Linked DNA regions of Homo sapiens: region 1 is linked to region 2. The links are contacts of gene promoters, found by promoter capture Hi-C in blood cells and fetal thymus (Javierre and others, 2016). All regions are on one chromosome and are shown on one strand. Each heading gives the region's core, a stretch centred on a gene start or on the middle of the fragment in contact. The rest is flanking DNA. Distances are from core to core; before and after follow the strand shown. Region 1 holds the start of OSTN (osteocrin). Region 2 holds the start of PYDC2 (pyrin domain containing 2).

Region 1 (2,700 bases), core at 56-2,555, 260 kb before region 2:
TTAGGCTGTATTTTTATCTTGATTTGTGAACTGTCTCTGCCAACTACTCAAATTTCAAGCTTGTTGAGACATATGTTATCCCTGGAAACCCATCATAAAAATGAAGCATTTTACTGTCCCACTAATTCTGTGTGCTCTGGTCAGTTTCCCCATCTAGATCCAAATTAACCATGTAATTGTCCTTATACTAGTGACTAGTATTTTAAATGGCCTTTTTAGGGAAACCAAAAAGAATAAATTTATTGCTTTTTGTGCAAAAATATAATCTGGTTTGGATTCTCTTTTCTAGCTTTTAAAGCAGTGAGATAGAATGCAGTCGTGGGAAAAGAACTGGATATGGAATTAGGAAGATCTGCATTTGAAATCCAGCTCTGCGACTACTTCTTACGTGTGTGATCTCATAAAGTCACTTAATTTATCTGAGCCTTGGCCTCTTTACCTGTCAGATGGGGACCCTCTGGTGAATCAAATGAGCCATTAACGATCTAATAACATAACATGTTACCTTTATAACTTAATAATTCATTTAAAAAATAATTTGTGTATGTAAGGATGCAAATATAATTAGTAGGAGATAAGAATGAAAGAAAACCTTCAGCCAAAGGCAGAAATATTTTGGTTAAAAAGAAATCAAAGTACTGAAGAACAAGAGCAAGACAAAAATGATTACAACGTCTTCATTTATAGCTCACATGTCACAGCTCAGTATTTATAGGTTTGTTAGTGACAGCCTTCCCAGTATAGCAATGTTAATTACGAAGTAGCTGTCATTGTGTTTCACTGACACAGCACTGTGCACCTGACGGAGGCTGAAAGTACTCATTATTTCCATAGCTGATCATTTAAAGGTCCAAAAATTACACCAATAAATCCGTTTGTGTCTGATTACAATCTCTCTATATCGTACATTGAAATTCCCTGGTGACTTTTTAACAAATCTTAGTGCATTTTATTTCCCAAATATGATTTGTAATAATCAGAGCTTGACTAAAACCTCAGGAAGAGGTGATGGGTGTGAAGCTGAACACAATACTAAATCTATATTCAAATTTTCCAGAGCCTATACTTCCATCGTTATTTAAATGCCATGATCAAAGCAATAGATAGACTAAATATGGAGGGAAAGGAGGGAGGGAGAAACTGAAGAAGGAAGGGAGAGGGAGGGAGAGAAAGAGATCGAAGAGAGGCTTGGGAAAATGTTCAGTGGAAAATCTGTAGAAATGATGTAAGAGAAAGCAAAGGCAGGGATTGGAGTAAGGGGTGTATAACTGAGACTATAAAAACTCAGAGAGAAAACTCACCACCAGGGCTGAGTTTTGGAGAAACTGCAGAGACAGTACTCTAAAGTTAGAATCTCCTGATCTTTCACGAGGTAAGTTATATGTAAAAATTGATAAAGATTTAATGCTTCTTTTAACTATTATTTTTACTTTCACAGACTCTTTAAATGTTTTGATTATATCTTGATTTTGTTAAAATTAGAGTGGTAATATTTCCCTCTCTAAAATGAGTAGAAAATCAAAGATATTTTTGTAATGCAAACTTAAGGTAGAACTAATTGCTTATTCAGATATTTCATATTTATAAGATTGCTTTTCTCTTCCATTTCAAAACAAACAGAAAGTGAATGCAAAATAATAATTCTATACATATATATGTTATTAGCGTTATTTTGCTTTCCTCAAAATTGTGTAATATTAGAAAAATGTTTAATATAAAAGAGTGGTCTAAACAACCTAGGTAAAAAAGAAAGGTTTTTTCCTCATTATTTCTATCAAAACTGGAGCTTAAGAAACATCCCTAAACTAATGAAATTCTATCTCTTATGTTCTTAAAACCTAATGCATCTTCTGTTTTTCTCCTTATATGTCAAATATGCAAATATGATATTAATAACATAGTTGGAGTAGACTTAGAGTATGCCTGTTCTTCAGTATTTGTAGTGCTCTTGCTATTCAATGATTGAATTGAGAGTTAATCTGAAACATACATTTGAGCTCTGTTGGAGAAGAAATTTAAAATTTTATTTCAGGTTTAGTGTGCACTCAGTGAATTCAGTTCTAACAATTCAAATGTTGTTTCTTTGAATAACAGACTCTATAGGTTTAGGAATGTGATTATTATTTGTTTATGAGTTTTCCTTCTAAAAATTTAACATTTTTGAGAATGAATTATGGTAATTTTAATGCCTATATAAGTTATAGAATTGATAGTGTTATACCAAAAACACCAGGGACATTCTGTGTTTTCTCTTACTTTGGTACTACTCTTCAGCACGCTTACAGAACTTTTCTAAGGAGCACTTTCTGTAGATAACAGTTCAGGTCTCCTTCATGTCAGTGAATTTTACTATGGCTTCATTCAAAAATTATTCAGAGTGTTTAAGGTTGACATTTGCTTTCTCCCCCTTATTTCTCAGGATTTTTAACTGATTCTTATATACTGAATAATGAGCAGTAGAGAAGCAGATATCTTCAGTTGACTGGGCACGGGAACCTCAGGGCTATAATTTTAACTTCTTTTACAAATACTCTCAATGATTTGAACATTTGATTAATAAAATTAGATTAATTGAACTTGTCTCAAAAATAAAGAACTCGAAGTAAGAAATCCTAATATATCATTCTAGCTCTGCTATAATCCACCTATACAACTGCAGGCAAGCCTTAAGCACGAATTAAGGCTTGATAATATTGTATT
Region 2 (2,700 bases), core at 169-2,668:
TAATGGAAAAATGATTTTTGTCCTAAAATCAGGACCATCTCAATGCTATCTGCTCTTAGCATGACCATACAACATTACATTAGTGGTGCTAGCCCTAGCAACTAGACAAGATAAGAAAGGCAACTGGATTGGAATGGAAGTGAAAGTGTCTGTATTAGCAGATAACATAATCTTGTATATAGGAAATCCTAAAAAATTCACTCGAAACCTGTTAGAACTATTAAATGAGTTCATCCAGGTTTCAGGATACAAGATCATACATAAAAATCAGTTTTTCTTCTACACACTTGTAATGAACAGTCCAAAACTGAAATTAAAACAATTCCTTTTAGAATCATATCAAAAAGAATAAAATACCTAGAAATAAATTTTAACAAAGAAGTAAAACTTATGCTCTGAAAATTACAAGACATTATTGAGAGAAATTAAAGAGCTAAATAAGTGGAAAGCATCTCGTGTTTATAGATTGGAAGGCTTAATTTACATTGTTAAGATGGCACTACTCCCCAAACTGATCTACAGATTCAATACAATCCCTGTCAGAACCTCAGCTTACTTTATGTAGAAATGGGCAAACTAGTTAGAAAATTCAAGTAGTATCGCATAGACCCAGTACAGCCAAGATGATATTGAAAAATAAGAGCAAACAAAGACAATTCACCTTTCCTTATTTCATGACTTAGTAATTTATTTAGTATTTCCTCATTTCATGACTTAGCATCTTAATGGTAATTAAGATAATGTGGTACTGGCATAAGGATAGGCACATTGCTCAATAAAACAGAACTGAGAGTCCAAAAATAAGCCCGTACATCTGTGGTCAACTGACTTTCAACAAGGGTTTCAAGACCGTACAATGGGGAAAGAATAGACTTTTCAACAAATGATGCTTAGGCAAGTAGATTTCTACATGCAGAAGAATAAAGTTGGACCTCTATTTCATGCCACATACAAAAATTAACTCAAAATATATCAAATACCCAAATGTAAGAGTTAAAGCTGTAATATTCTTATAGTAAATGATAGGGGTACATCTTTATGACCTGAGACTTGGCAAAAGATTCTTAGACATGACATCAAAAGCATAAAAAATAAGAAAAAAATAGATAAATTTGATTTCATCAAAATGAAAAACATTTGTACCTTAAAGGACACCATCATTAAACTGATAAGACAACTCACAGAATGGGAGCAAAAATTTGCGTATCGCGTATCTAATGAAGGACCTGTCCCTAGACTATATAAAGAACTCTTACAACTCAGCAATAAAAAGACAATAACGCAATTTTATAATGAGCAAAAATCTGAACTGATATTTCTTCTAAAAAGATATAAAAATATATACTTATTAGTATATGAAAAAATGTGAGAACCAGAGCATAGGGCCAGGCGTTGGGAGAGCTCCCACATAGGACAAGATGGCATCTTCTGCAGAGCTGGACTTCAACCTGCAGGCTCTTCTGGAGCAGCTCAGCCAGGATGAGTTGAGCAAGTTCAAGTCTCTGATCAGAACAATCTCCCTGGGAAAGGAGCTACAGACCGTCCCCCAGACAGAGGTAGACAAGGCTAATGGGAAGCAACTGGTAGAAATCTTCACCAGCCACTCCTGCAGCTACTGGGCAGGGATGGCAGCCATCCAGGTCTTTGAAAAGATGAATCAAACGCATCTGTCTGGGAGAGCTGATGAACACTGTGTGATGCCCCCACCTTAACCCCTCAGGGATAGTGAGTTGATGGCTGAGCTAGATGTTGCTTTAGCCTTGGTTCTGCCTCCATTTTACATGCACATGTTGCTTAACCTTGTTATATATGAAATATCTATATCACCAGTATTTTGAGATAAATAAAGGTGAAATAATTCACAAACATTAAAAGAAAAGATGCCTGACAACTTTAGTATTCAGGGAAATGCAAATCAAAACTATGATGAGATACCACTTCATATCCACTAGGCTGGCTAGAATAGAAAGATAATAACAAGTATTGGCACAGATGTGGAGAAACTAGAATCCTCATATACTGCTTATGGAAATGTGAAATTGTGCAGCCACTTTGGAAAACAGGATGGCAATTTCTCAAATGATAAACAGAGTTCTCATATGATCTAATATTATATTTATAAGTACATGATCAAGAGAAATAAAAACATAAACACAAATGTTTATAGTGTCATTGTATACAATAGCCAAAAGGTGGAAACAACCTAATGTCTGTGAATGGACAAATGAATAAACAAATTGTGGCATATGCAGCTAATGAAATATTATTCGACAAAAATGAAGTATTGATCACATGCTTAAACATGAATGAACATTGAAAACACTATGCTAAATGAAAGAAGCCTGTCATAAAAGACAAAATATTATATGGTCACATCACATATGATATGATTCCATTCATAGGAAAGTTCAGAATGGCCAAATTTATAGAGTCAGAAGTAGATAACAGGTTGCTTAGGACTGGGAAGGAGAGTTGGTGAGTAGAGGGGAATAGGGAGTAATAGCTAAAACATTTAAGATTGCTTTTCGAGGTGATGAGAATATTCTGAAATCAACTATGGTGATGATGGTACATATCTGTGAATAAGCTAAAAACATTTAATTGTATTCTTTAAATGAGTTGTGTGATATGTGAATTATATCTCAATAAATGTTAAAAATGCAAAAAATGAGACAATGAATGTTTACCATCTTTTCATAT

The links. The method cuts DNA at HindIII sites, captures the fragments that hold promoters and counts their contacts. A CHiCAGO score of 5 or more calls a contact.
Region 1: the fragment with the promoter of OSTN here is called in contact with the fragment with the promoter of PYDC2 in region 2 in 17 of 17 cell types (total B cells, monocytes, neutrophils and 14 more); the score reaches 27.7 in total B cells.

What each region holds. Positions count from the first base shown.
Region 1 is chr3:191,197,936-191,200,635 of GRCh38, forward strand. It overlaps OSTN (osteocrin), which reads left to right and starts at 1,306. Exons shown (of 5, transcript NM_198184.2): 1 at 1,306-1,372. The HindIII fragment of the contact is 2,884 bases long and covers 58-2,700 here.
Region 2 is chr3:191,459,745-191,462,444 of GRCh38, forward strand. PYDC2 (pyrin domain containing 2) reads left to right here and starts at 1,419. Exons shown (of 1, transcript NM_001083308.1): 1 at 1,419-1,712. The coding sequence starts at 1,419. The coding sequence ends at 1,712. The region is part of intron 1 of PYDC2-AS1 (PYDC2 antisense RNA 1); the gene reads left to right. The HindIII fragment of the contact is 8,936 bases long and covers 1-2,700 here.